Linked DNA regions of Homo sapiens: regions 2 and 3 are each linked to region 1. The links are contacts of gene promoters, found by promoter capture Hi-C in human tissues and cell types (Jung and others, 2019). All regions are on one chromosome and are shown on one strand. Each heading gives the region's core, a stretch centred on a gene start or on the middle of the fragment in contact. The rest is flanking DNA. Distances are from core to core; before and after follow the strand shown. Region 1 holds the start of CELSR1 (cadherin EGF LAG seven-pass G-type receptor 1). Region 2 overlaps TBC1D22A (TBC1 domain family member 22A). Region 3 overlaps GTSE1 (G2 and S-phase expressed 1).

What was found. Contacts are between HindIII fragments. The study calls those that stand out against the background at their distance.
Region 2: a contact is called between a fragment that was not itself captured here and the fragment with the promoter of CELSR1 in region 1, in 2 of the 25 tissues and cell types used here (small bowel and spleen).
Region 3: a fragment that was not itself captured here is called in contact with the fragment with the promoter of CELSR1 in region 1 in 3 of the 25 tissues and cell types used here (liver, mesendoderm cells and stomach).

The regions. Positions count from the first base shown.
Region 1 is chr22:46,535,897-46,540,060 of GRCh38, forward strand. It overlaps CELSR1 (cadherin EGF LAG seven-pass G-type receptor 1), which reads right to left and starts at 1,724. Exons shown (of 35, transcript NM_001378328.1): 1 at 1-1,724. The coding sequence starts at 1,274. The HindIII fragment of the contact is 25,460 bases long and covers 1-4,164 here.
Region 2 is chr22:46,787,645-46,791,808 of GRCh38, forward strand. All of the region lies in intron 1 of TBC1D22A (TBC1 domain family member 22A), which reads left to right. Among named protein-coding and RNA genes, the nearest start is that of TBC1D22A, 27 kb to the left of the region's middle. RefSeq lists enhancers at 738-837, 3,847-3,956. The HindIII fragment of the contact is 6,608 bases long and covers 1-4,164 here.
Region 3 is chr22:46,313,749-46,317,912 of GRCh38, forward strand. It overlaps GTSE1 (G2 and S-phase expressed 1), which reads left to right. Exons shown (of 12, transcript NM_016426.7): 6 at 142-265; 7 at 2,284-2,664. Among named protein-coding and RNA genes, the nearest start is that of GTSE1, 19 kb to the left of the region's middle. The HindIII fragment of the contact is 7,099 bases long and covers 1-4,164 here.

The DNA of each region.
Region 1 (4,164 bases), core at 474-2,973:
AGCTGGTACTCGGCCGCCTCCTCCCGGTCCAGCACCGCCCGTGTGCTCACCACGCCAGAGCTCTCGTTGAGCTGGAAGACGTCCCACGCGCCCCCCAACACGCGGTAACGCAAGTTGGCGTTGATGGGCGAGTCGCGGTCGCTGGCGCGGATGGTCAGCACCTCGTAGCCCACCTCCAGGTTCTCCCGCACGCGCTCGCGGTACTCCGACTGCTCGAAGACCGGGCTGTGGTCGTTGGTGTCTTTGACCAAGACAGTGATGTAGGTGGTGGCCGAGCGCGGCGGCGTACTGTAGTCCACGGCTTTCACCCTGAGGACGTGCGTCTCCTTGGTCTCGCGGTCCAGTACGCTGTCCGTGCTCACGGCGCCCGTGGCAGAGTCGATTCGGAAGTAGCCCCGGGAGCGCTCGTCGAACAGCCCCTCCATGTAATAGCTCACGCGCTCCTCCTCGCCCTCGATGGTGTAGTGCGCGTGCAGCTGGAGGATGAGGGTGCCCGCCGGTTCGTTCTCAAACAACGCCACCTGGTAGTTGGGCATCGGAAACTTCAGGCTCCCTCTGCCGCTCGTGCCCCGCCGGGCCCGTCGCGCCGGCCCCGCCCGGGCTTCGGGCAAGTTCGGCGGCAGGGGCGGCGATGGGGATGGCGACGCGGAGGGCGTCCCCGCGGTGGCGGCCTCCAGCGCCAGTCCCACCCGGACGGCGCCAGCCGCGCGCCGCAGGGCGCACAGCAGACGCAGGCGGACCGAGCCGCCCGGCGGCAGGCAGATGGGACGGCCGGGACAGCGGGGCCTGGGGCGCGGCGGGCAGCGGCAGGCGGGTAAGGTGGTCGGAGCTGCGAGCGCCGAATGCTGCGCGGCCGCGCAGCCGCCGGGGACGGGGAAGCAGAGCGCCCCGCAGAGCCGGGCACCGGTTCCGCAGAGCCGGGCACGGGCTCCGCAGCCGGGAAGGTGCGTGCGCGCCCGCAGGCGGCGGCTCAGCGCCGTCGGGGCACTGCGGGCCACCAAGCGGACTTGCAGCGGCAGCGGGCGCCCCGCGCCCGAGACGCGCCGACGTCCTGCCAGCCGCCCATCGCGGCCCACGTCCAGCAGCTCCCGCGGCGCCCGGGGCGTGCAAGCGGCGCCCACCGCGTAGGTACAGCCGGGCCGGAGGGCGAAGGCGCGGGTCCCGCCGGGTACGCGCGGCTCCCAGGCGGCCGCTCGCAGCCCCATCGCCGGCAGGGCGGCGGCGGCGGCCAGGAGCAGCAGCACGGGCAGCACGGGCGGCGGCGGCGGCGCCATGGCCCGGAGCCCGAGCCCGAGCCGGGCGCCCGAACACAATCCATGCACCCGGCGCGCCTCCGCATCCACCCGGCGAGGCCGGGGAGCGGCTCCCGGGCGCCCGGCCCTCGGGGCGGTCCGCGTCCCGCCTCCCCGGGGGCCCTGGCGGGGACTGTGGGGACCACGCGCCCGGCCTCCCCCGCAGCTTCCACTTCGAGAGCACTTTGCGAAAGTTTGCGAAGTTGGTTTCAAGATGGCTCCTCCGCGCGTCCCGGGAGGGCGCCGCGCATCAACCTGCGGCGGCGGCGGCGGCTCCAGGCGGCTCCAGGTGGCTCCGGCGCGGGCTCGGCCGGACGGGCGTGGGAAGCGGGGCGGGCCCGGCGCGGGGCGGGGGCTGAGTTCCCGGAGCGGGCTGGGCAGCTCCGCGCCGCGCAGACCCCGGCGGCCGGCTGCTGCCTGGGCGGTGCGCTTGGCCCGCGCCCACTCCGCCCGCGCTCTCCCCGCCCCCGGCCCGGCCCCGCCCCGCCCCCGGCCCAGCGGCGTATTGTTCGGCCCCGGGGGGAGCCGGCTCGGAGGTGCGCGCCGAGAGGATCGCTATGGAGACGCGAGGGCGCGGCCGGGACGGGGACTGGGGCCCTACTCCCCGGAGGCCTCCCCACCCAGCCTCCCGGTGGGGCGGGGCCGAGGCAACAGGGCCGGGAAAGGTGGGGCTGGGGCCCCCGGTGGCCGCTACCCGTGGGGCGGTGGCTCCGCACCTCGGGCTCGGGGCCGCGGCTCAGAGCCTGGCTCCCCACCCCGGCAGAACAGATCCACGGAGACCGCCGCCAGGAGTGCCGCGCGGGTAGGACCCGGGGGCGGAGGACTGGGGCCGAGAGGCCGGGGAGCCCCCCCCCACCCATTAAGGACTGCGGAGGCTGTCGAGGAGGGTTACCCATTTTACAGCAAGACGCACGGAGGCTAAAATGCTTCACCCCGACTAAAACTCCCTGGACTTTGAAGCCCAATAGGCAGCTACCGGATCTGCGTCCCACTTGGTTTAAAGCGCAACTTTTAAATGAAAGAAGAAAACCCCGGTTGACATAAGGGATTTGGAGAGGACGGCGGAGGCGCGCTCATCTCCCGCGTGCGGCCCGACCCGAGCGTTCGCGGACGCATCGCGGAATCCCCGAGCGTCCGGCTCCTCCCGAAGCGGGTTGCGGGGAAGGCGGGGGGCTGCGGGTCCTGGAAGCTGCCTGGGGCAAGCAAGCACCCGCAGGGATTTAGAGCTGTGCCACAGCCCCTGCCCAGCCTCCTACGGAGGACAGCGGGGGGCGGGGGGCAGAGACCTTAGAGCTTTCAGAAAAGTGACACACACCCCCGCCTCCTGCGGGGAACCACGGGGGGCCGGGGGCAGCTTTAGGTTTGCGTGACGGGTACACCTGCCTCCGGATGGGGCACAGGGATAAAGGGGGTGGAGGCTTAGGACTTGGCGACCCCCCGCATGGGCGGGGCTTTGGGACTGTGCCACCAGCGGCTGGGAAGGGCGCGCACTCCCTTGGTGGCGCTCGGGGCGCCGGAGTCCAGTGCAGCCCTTAGGCCTCCCAGTGGTCGGGGACGGTAGGTGGGGGTCGCCTCTTCTCTCCTAGAAGGGCTTCTCCTGGGGCCGGTCGGAGCGGTGGGGGTGGGAGTAATGCGCAGTCACCCCTAGAACGGGTCTTTTTGGCAAGGGAGGGTCGGATCCTGCAGCCAAATCTCTGAGCTGAGCTGAGATGAGTCCAGTCTCAACGAGGACCGTGGGCGGCTGTGGAGAACCGGAAGGGTTTCTCCCCCGGAGCGATGTGTCTGTGTGTGTGTCACACGCATACTCAGCCAACTTCGCTCAAAGCTGCTGAAACAGTGTCTTTGTGCTGAAGCCCAATGTGAGCATTTTCTTCCCAGTAGCAAGGATTTGAACACGTTATATTGATCTAAAAGGTGGAGTTGCTTTGGAACCTTTTAATTCGAGGTTTCCACTGGAGAGTCCTGTTGGGAAATGTGTGTGTGGAGGGAGGGGAGGAAGGAGAAAAGTCCGTCTCCTTAATGTGAGCGGTCCAGGACCTCCCCACCCGCCATATACCCTTCCACTGGGATTTTTCCGGGAAGGATGAAAGGACAGGAGTTCTGGGGCCGGAAGGCAGGGCGGGTCCCTGAGCCCGGAGCCTCCCAGTGGAAGGCTACTGGGCGGACCTGAAGGGGACCCAGGCAGGAGGAAAAACCAGAGAACCCCAGGAGTGCCTGTTTTGCAATAAGGCTTTAAGCAGAGTGGGTTGGGTTTAAATAAACAAAACTCAGCTGCAGCCAGTGGGTTCAGGTGTGGGCCTGCTTTTCTGGAATAAGGCACCTGCAGGCTGCGAGGTAACCACAGGGACTGCCCAACACCTAGGGACAGGGGAGGATGGATGAATCTCACTAACAGGATGTCCAGCAAAGACAAAAGATCATTCCATTCACGCTTAGACCGACAGCAAGCCCGACTCCACCATAACGTTTAGAGGTGTGCACAAATAGGGGAAAGATGAAGAAAAACAAGGAGGTGATTATGGGCACATTCAGGAGGGCTCTGGGGGAGGAGGGGCATCCCCTTCTGGACCTGAGGGTTACCAGAGTGTCGGCTTCATGATCACACTTTGAACTCCAAACACATGATTTGCGTACTTTTCCCTATGCCTGCATCTAGAGTCGGCAGTTTTTGTTTTTTTTTGTTTTGTTTTGTTTTGTTTTGTTTTGTTTTTTTGAGACAGAGTTTCACTGTTGTTGCCCAGGCTGGAGTGCAATGGCACGATCTCAGCTTACCACAACCTCCGCCTTCCAGGTTCAAGCAATTCTGCCTCAGCCTCCCTAGTAGCTGGGATTACAGGCGTGCGCCTCACGCCCGGCTAATTTTGTATTTTCA
Region 2 (4,164 bases), core at 1,029-3,528, 250 kb after region 1:
TGCAAATGTGCAGAATAATACTGTATGTTGCCCAGAGATCCACGTCTCTTCCATAATAGTATAAACTCTTACATGGAAATGGAAAATGTCAAATACAGGTTGGTAGCCACCTCAGAGGAGGCAGGTAGAGAACCAGAATGGGGAGGGTTTCAACTCTATTATATGACAAAATGTTGGAATTTGGGGGAAGTGAATCTCTGGGTGGTGTCTGTGTGGTTATTCCTTATGTCCTATATGTCACTAAGCTGGCTGCAGCCTGCCAGGGGTAGGTGACTTTGGGCAGGCTACTTTTTTTTTTTTTTTTTTTTTTGGGACGGAGTCTTACTCTGTCACCCAGGTTGGAGTGCAGGGGCGTGATCTCGGCTCACTGCAAGCTCTGCCTCCCGGGTTCACACCATTCTCTTGCCTCAGCCTCCTAAGTAGCTGGGACTATAGGCGTCCGCCACCACGACCGGGTAATTTTTTGTATTTTTAGTAGAGACGGGGTTTCACTGTGTTAGCCAGGACGGTCTCGATCTCCAGACCTCGTGATCCACCCGCCTCGGCCTCCCAAAGTGCTGGGATTACAGGCGTGAGCCACCACGCCCGGCCAGGCAGGCTACTTTCTTAAGCTTTCTGTCCCTCAGTTTTTCCACCTTTTGAATGGGAAGAGTAATGATATCTGCCTTATTGGGTTGCAAAGATTAAAGGACTTAACACATTGAGAGTTTAAAATAATGCTCATCTCTGTTAGCTACTACTATTATTCTCTATGCTTTATTGCTTGCAGTATTGATAGTAAAAAAGAAACGGCATGTTGAGCAAATCTGGAGGCTGTTGAAAGTGGTTGGAGCTGAGCAGTGGCACGTGGCATGGTGGTCACAGGGCTGTTCCTTCACTTTTCTGTGTGTTTCATTCCTTTGGTAAAAGTATCCAGCACCAGCCCCACTGGGACCCGCCTGTGGTTCATGCCACAGGGCGTCTGTGTCCTCAGCACCCAGGACAGTGCCTGCCTCGTAGGTCCTTCCTGGTTGAGAGGAGGGATCAGCGCTTTGCTTTCAGGTCATCTTCAGTTTGAAACTGAAACTCACTCTGATGTATGCAGAAATAAATGTGATGTTTTCATCTGGATGCTGACTTTAGAATTTTCTTCTGAAATCATATATTTCTCCTTATTGGCTTTTTTTTGGGAAGGAGAAGTCATAACAAACCCTTCAAGGGGCCAGACTCTTTTGAATTCCTTTCTCTTCTCTGGGTTTCCAATCTTCCTCTGTGGAGTGAGGGGTGGGACTGGGCTCCTGGGCCTTTGAAGGAAGGCCGGGTGTGGGCTCATGTTTCTGCTTGCTGTGGTGACAGGCCCTTGGCTGCCACTTTGATGTCCCACTGATTCCACTGCTCCTGGCCTTCAGATCAGGTACGTGCTGTTTTGTTTGTCTCAACCTTCTGCCAGCCACTTTTCCTAGTTCTAAGTGTGATTTTTTTTCTTAAGGAATCTTCCTTCTTTTCTTTTTTTTTTTTTTTTGAGACAGAGTCTCGCTGTCGCCTAGGCTGGAGTGCAGTGGCGCAATCTCGGCTCACTACAAGCTCTGCCTCCTGGGTTCACGCCATTCTCCTGCCTCAGCTTCCCAAGTAGCTGGGATTACAGGCACGTGCCACCAAGCCCGGCTAATTTTTTGTATTTTTCATAGAGACGGGGTTTCACTGTGTTATCCAGGATGGTCTCGATCTCCTGACCTCGTGATCCGCCCGCCTCGGCCTCCCGATAAGACTGGGTTTCTGTGCTCCTGTGACATGCTCTTGTAGGAATCATCATAGAACAGTCAAAATGCCAGTTGAAGTTTTGCTTTTGTGAGTAAACTGTAAGGGCCGGAATAGTTTGGATGTGTTGTGCTTACCTTTGCCTCCCCAGTGCCCTGTCCGAGAGTCAGTATCAAAAAAATGTTTGTCAAGTTTTGCTGAAAAATCTTAGAATATAAAAGTGAACATTTGGTATAATTAATATGTTGTGCTGCAGGCATAGGAATGGGATACTGAATAGAAACTGAGTGGGAAACTGAAAAATGACCCAATGTAATATTTTAACGTTAAAGATGATGTTCTCAAAGCAGTGGGTGAAAGGAGAGGTTACTGAATAAATGACATTTGAACCCTTCTTTATTTTTTTTTAAAGTTTCCTACTAAACACTATATAGCAAAATAAAATAAATTCTAGGTGGATTGAAAACTTAAGGGTAGGAACGAGCCCTCTAGAAGGATTGAACTAGCACACGGCAATGTTTATGCACTCTCAGAAGGGTCAGGCCTTTCCAAGTGTCGTCCCCAAAGTGGAGTCACGAGGAAAGGACACAAGAGTGGCTCAGCCTCCCAGACCAAGGAAAACAGATTGGCCACCGCCATTGTCTTTCTGTGACTGCTCTAGCAAATCATCACAAACTTACTGGCTTACAGCAAACATGGTATCCTAGAGTTCTAGAATTTGCAAGTCTGATGTGGGTCTCGCTGGGCTAACACCAAGGTGTTGGCGGGGCTGGTTCCTTCTGGAAGCTCCAGGGGAGAGCGTTTTCCCTGCTCTCTCCAGCTCCAGGAAGCCGCCCACGTTCCTTGGCATACAGCCCCCTTTCTCCACGTACAGAGTCAGCCATGTTGCATTTGTGTGACCTTCCGCGGTCTCTTCTGCTCTGACCACAGCCAGGAAGGTTCTCTGCTTTTGAGTACTCATGATTAGATTGTGCCCATCCGGATTGCCCAGGATGGTCTCCCACCTCATTCGTATTCTTAATTGCATCTGCAAAGTCCCCTTTGCCATGTAAGGTGACGTAGTCACAGGTTCTGGGCATTAGGATGTGGACGTCTTGGGTGGGGGCCGTTATTCTGCTGACCACACCACCAGAACGACTAAGAAGGAATCCTCTGTTTACAAGGTTTTTTTTTACAAAGCAGTGAGAAAGTGGTGAGCACCTCATTAGAAAATGGACAAAGGGTATGAGCAGACAATTTACAAAAAGAAGAGGTACAAATGAACAAAATAAAAAAAAAAAGTTTTACCTTACTAATGAATGAAGAGGCACATAGCCGACACGGAGACCACTGTTCTCTTGTTGAATGAGCAGTGGTGTGTGGTGTTGACACTGCTGGTGGGATATGAACCACGGCTCTTCAGCAGTGTGGACCAGTGGCCTTTTTAATGTGTGCTTTATGTCCCAAGCTTTCCATTTCTAGGAGTTTATCCCCAAGAGGTTATCATAGTTGTGTGCAAATATTTGTCTCCAAATATCTTTATTACTTTTTTTGTAATCACTATATTATTTTATTTTTTAGAGACAGGGTCTTACTCTGTAACCCAGATTGGAGTGCAGTGGTGCATTCTTGGCTCACTGCAACCTCCACCTCCCAGGCTCAAGCGATCATCCGGCCATTTTTTTGTAATCACTTATTTTATTTTTTTGAGACAGGGTCTCACTGTGTAACCCAGGTTGGAGTTCAGTGGTGCAATCTTGGCTCACTGCAACCTCAGCCTCCCAAGTAGCTGGGACCACAGGCTTATGTCACCACGCCCAGCCAATTTTTTTGTATTTTTTTGTGCAGACGTGGTTTCGCCATGTTGCCCAGGCTGGTCCTAAACTCCTGAGCTCAAGCGATCCGCCCACCTCGGCCTCCCAACATTGCCAGTATTGCCTTCAACAAACAGAGATTCGTTTATTTCCTGTGTCTGGTAGTCTGTGGTGAGCAGCGCAGGGTTGGGCAGCAGCTCAAAGCTGTCACAGCCCCATGCTGTTTCCTGCCTGTCTGCCCTGCTGCCCTTCATGGTGGCATCTTCACTCACGCACGATGGCTGAGGCCTCACCTCTGTGTTCCAGGTGGAAAAAAGGGAAAGAAGCTGGGGGCCAAAGGGGTGCTAGCTAAGCCTGTTTTTTTTTTTTTTTTTCCAGAAAAGTAAAAACCAGCATTTATTTCTTGCCGGCTATGAAAAATAAATGTGTGTCACAGGGCCAGCCGTGGCTGACGTCAGCCAAAGGAGCAAAGGCTTCTGGGTAGAGGTTGATGAGTCAACCAACAGTGTCTGCCACGTGGGGTATTTCATTTCCATCAGTTTTCCAAATTTACTCTGATGCATGTAAGACTTTTATAGTAAAACTGTTAAGTCTTTTTCTTTTTGAGATGGAGTCTTGCTCTGTCACCCAGGCT
Region 3 (4,164 bases), core at 656-3,155, 220 kb before region 1:
CTCCGGCCTCAGCCTCCCAAAGTGCTGGGATTACAGGCGTGAGCCACCGTGCCCAGCCAAAAACCCCTTACTTTTGCAGACACAAGTAATAGGTAAATAACGAGATCTTTGCTGATTCTGTTTTTTCACATTTTGCCCCAGTTGGGGCTGAAGAAGACCCTGTTAAAAGCACCCGGCTCTACCAGCAATCTCGCAAGGAAGTCCTCCTCGGGGCCTGTTTGGAGCGGGGCATCCAGTGCGTGCACATCCCCAGCAGTGGGCAAAGGTGAGGCAGCCGGCATCATGCTTGGACCCACATCTGGCCAGGTGAGGCCTGGAGTGCTGCTCAGGCCTTGGAGACTGTTTCTGCAGAACCACTTAGGCTTGGCAGGACGTCCCGGAGGGCGTGCTGTGTGCGGTGGACCAGGCTGTGGACTGAGTTGCTGTACCTGCCCTCAGTGCCTCTGTCCCATGAGGAGGGCACACTCAGATGGGTGGCTTCAGTCTACGGGGTACACATGGCCAGAAAGCATGTATGATACCCCGTGCCTGAGAACATGGACACTGGAATCACCCTCATGTCCATGTCATGAGACACCAGTTTTAAAATAGGACTATTCCAGATAATGTAGGGCATATGGCCCCATAACTCCTGGGTGCCTGTTTAAATCCATGCTCCCACACCTGTTTGAGGTCAAGCCACATTTCAACCTTGCCAAGCCACAGCTGCCATCTAGTGGTAAGGGAAAGCCTTCGCCTTTCTGCTCTTCAGAGCGAAATCCTCTTCGAGGTGCATTGGCCATGTGGCGTCTCGGGGTCGTTCAGGGCAGCATGGTGTGGATTGTGTTCACAAAATGTAAAAAGTGGGCCGGGCGCAGGGGCTCACGCCTGTGATCCCAGCACTTTGGCAGGCCAAGATGGGTGGATCGCTTGACCCCTGGAGTTTGAGACCAGCCTGGCCAACATGGTGAAACCCTGTCTCTACTAAAAACACAAAAACTAGCCGGGCATGGTGGCGGGTGCCTGTAGTCCCAGCTACTCGGGAGACTGGGCCACGAGAATGGCTTGAACGCGGGAGGCAGAGGTTACCATGAGCCGAGATTGCATCACTGCACTCCGTCTCAAAAAAAAAAAAAAAAATGATAAGTGTGAACTCTCTAATCAGATTGATCTGATCTGGAATTCTGACTCTGCCATTCTGTGATTAAGAGAGGTTTGTGTCCTTATCTTTATAGACTGAGGTGATGACCTCCTGAGATCAAGCAATCCTCCCACCTCAGCCTCCTGAGTAGCTGGGACTACAGGCACATGCCACCACACCCGGCTAATTTTTGTGGGTTTTTTTTTTTTGAGATGGAGTCTCACTCTATTGCCAGGTTGGAGTGCAGTGGCGCAATCTTGGCTCACTACAACCTCTGCCTCCCGGGTTCGAGTGATTCTCCTGCCTCAGCCTCCCAAGTAGCTGGGACTACAGGCACCTGCCACCACGCCCGGCTAATTTTTGTATTTTTAGTAGTGACGGGGTTTCACCATGTTGGCTAGGATGGTCTCGATCTCTTGACCTCGTGATCCGCCCGCCTTGGCCTCCCAAAGTGCTAGGATTACAGGCACGAGCCACTGCGCCTGGCCCACATTTTTGTGTTTTTTGTAGAGAGGATGGTCTCACTATATTAGCCAGGCTGGTCTCGAACTCCTGGCCTTGAGTGATCTCTTGCCTTGGCCTCCCAAAGTGTTTGGATTACAGGCGTGAGCCACCACTCCTGGGCTAAAGTTTTTCTTTAAGAATCCTTTACCAGATCGTCTGCGTATATTGGTAGCTCAGTATGTATTACCCTAGTTTATCTGGTCTTCTATTTTAAATAGTGCTTATGGTTAATATGACGCAGCCTCCTTGTAATTTTAAAGGAATCAACCAGTAACAATTGCGTCTTTTTTCCTTGTTCCCTGCCCACCTCTGTGACCAGACAGGTGAGACATGTGACTAGACTATCCCCTTCCATCTGCTCAACTAATGTAGATTTCTCCTGCCAACATAATCAACGAAGATAGGAGAGCTTGAATTTATGCATGCTTATGTACATGTTAGTAATTATTTTGAGAATAAGTACCTTAGAATACACTCAGCTAAGCTAAAAGCTGCCTGAGCCATCCTGTGTTTGATGATGTTGCCTGAAGGGCTTATAGAATATTGTTAATGTGTCTTATGTTTAAGGTAGATATGCTAAAGACAGCATAACTTCTGTGTGTTTGTTAAATAGCTTCATACTTTTATAATAATGTGATTTTTGTGTGTATACCTTCTAGCTAAATCAAGTGAATTTGCAAGTATTCCTGCAAATAGCTCCCGGCCTCTGTCAAACATCAGCAAGTCAGGCAGAATGGGACCCGCCATGCTGCGGCCAGCTCTGCCTGCAGGCCCTGTGGGGGCATCCTCCTGGCAGGCCAAGCGGGTCGATGTTTCTGAGCTGGCAGCGGAGCAGCTCACGGCACCCCCCTCAGCATCCCCCACCCAACCCCAGACTCCGGAAGGTGGCGGCCAGTGGCTGAACTCCAGTTGCGCTTGGTCAGAATCTTCTCAATTGAATAAGACTAGAAGTATCAGACGGCGAGATTCCTGTCTAAATTCCAAGACAAAGGTTATGCCTACTCCTACAAATCAATTTAAAATTCCTAAGTTTTCTATTGGTGAGTAATAGATACATTTTAATGTGTCTTTAAAAAATACTGAAGAAATTGCATTTAAAGTTTTAAACAATTATTGATGGCATTGATGGTGTTTTTAGTTCTTTCCTCCAACAGTGCTTTCAGGTGTGACCCGCTGTCTTCTCGCCCACGTTGTTTTGGGGGGTCACTGGAGGCTCCCTGAATGTCTTACGTTCGTTCCTGTGTGTGTGACACCCCAATGCTCGTAGGCTGCTTGTAAGGTTTTCTCTTTAGTGTTACTGTCGGGAATTTGATTATTATGTGCTTTGAGGTGGCTTTCTTTGCCTTTATCCCGCTGAGGGTTTCTTAAGCTTCTTTGATCTGTGGGTTGGTTTTTTTCAGCAAATTTGGAAAACGTTGGCCATTATTTCTTCAGCTATCTTTTCCTCTTTCCACTTTATTTCCTAGGACTCTAATCACATCTATTTCAGGCCTCTTGACGTTGTCTCACAGGACACCGAAGCTCTGTTCTTTTTTTTATTTCAGCCTTTTTTCTTTTTCTTATCTTTTTTCTTTTCTTTCTTTCTTTTTTTTTGTTTTTTGTTTTTTGAGACGGAGTCTCGCTCTGTCACCCAGGGTGGAATGCAGTGGCGCGATCTCAGCGCACTGTAACCTCCACCTACCGAGTTCAAGCAATTCTCCTGCCTCAGCCTCCCGAGTAGCTGGGATTACAGGTGCCCACCACCACACCCGGCTAATTTTTTTTTTGTATTTTTGGTAGAGACGGGGTTTCGCCATGTTGGCCAGGCTGGTCTGGAACTCCTGACCTCAAGTGACCCACCCATCTCGGCCTCTCAAACTGCTGGGATTATAGGTGTGAGCCACCGTGCCCGGCCCAGCCTTTTTCCTTGAGCTACAGTTTGGGTAGTTTCTGTTGTCAGATATCATTTCTTCTGCAGTGCCTAACAGCTGTGAAGCCCATCCAGTTAACTTTGTTTCTAACATAATAGTTTCCCCTTATTTCTTCTCATGGTACTTGGGTTTTCTTTTACATCCTCGTGAGCAAATTGATAATGGTTTTAGGGTCTACGATTCTTCTCATACCATCTTCCCCATCATTTTGGGGTCTGTTTCGACTGACTAATTTTGTTTCCGGGTTTTGGCCTCATTTTCCTGCCTCTACATTTTTCACAAGTTTTTCTTGGTTGTTGGATATTGTCAGGTGTACACTTTTGAATGTCTGGATTTTGTTGTCTTTCTCTGAGGAGTTGGGTTGGGCTTGGCAGGCAGTTAAGGTGCAGATCATCCTTCCGAGGCTTTTTATGCTTTGAAGTGGTGGGTCTAGCATAGCCTTTCCGCCTCCCGCCACCGGCGTCCTTCCCAAGGCCTCTGCTGCACACCCGTGTGTCCCGCAAGGCCCGCGAGACCCCTGCACTCCTGCTGCTGCAAGATGACACCTTCTCGGCCCTGTGAGCTCCGCTCGTTGCTCCCTGGTAAGACGGCGGTTTCTCGGCCCTGTGAGCTCCGCTCGTTGCTCCCTGG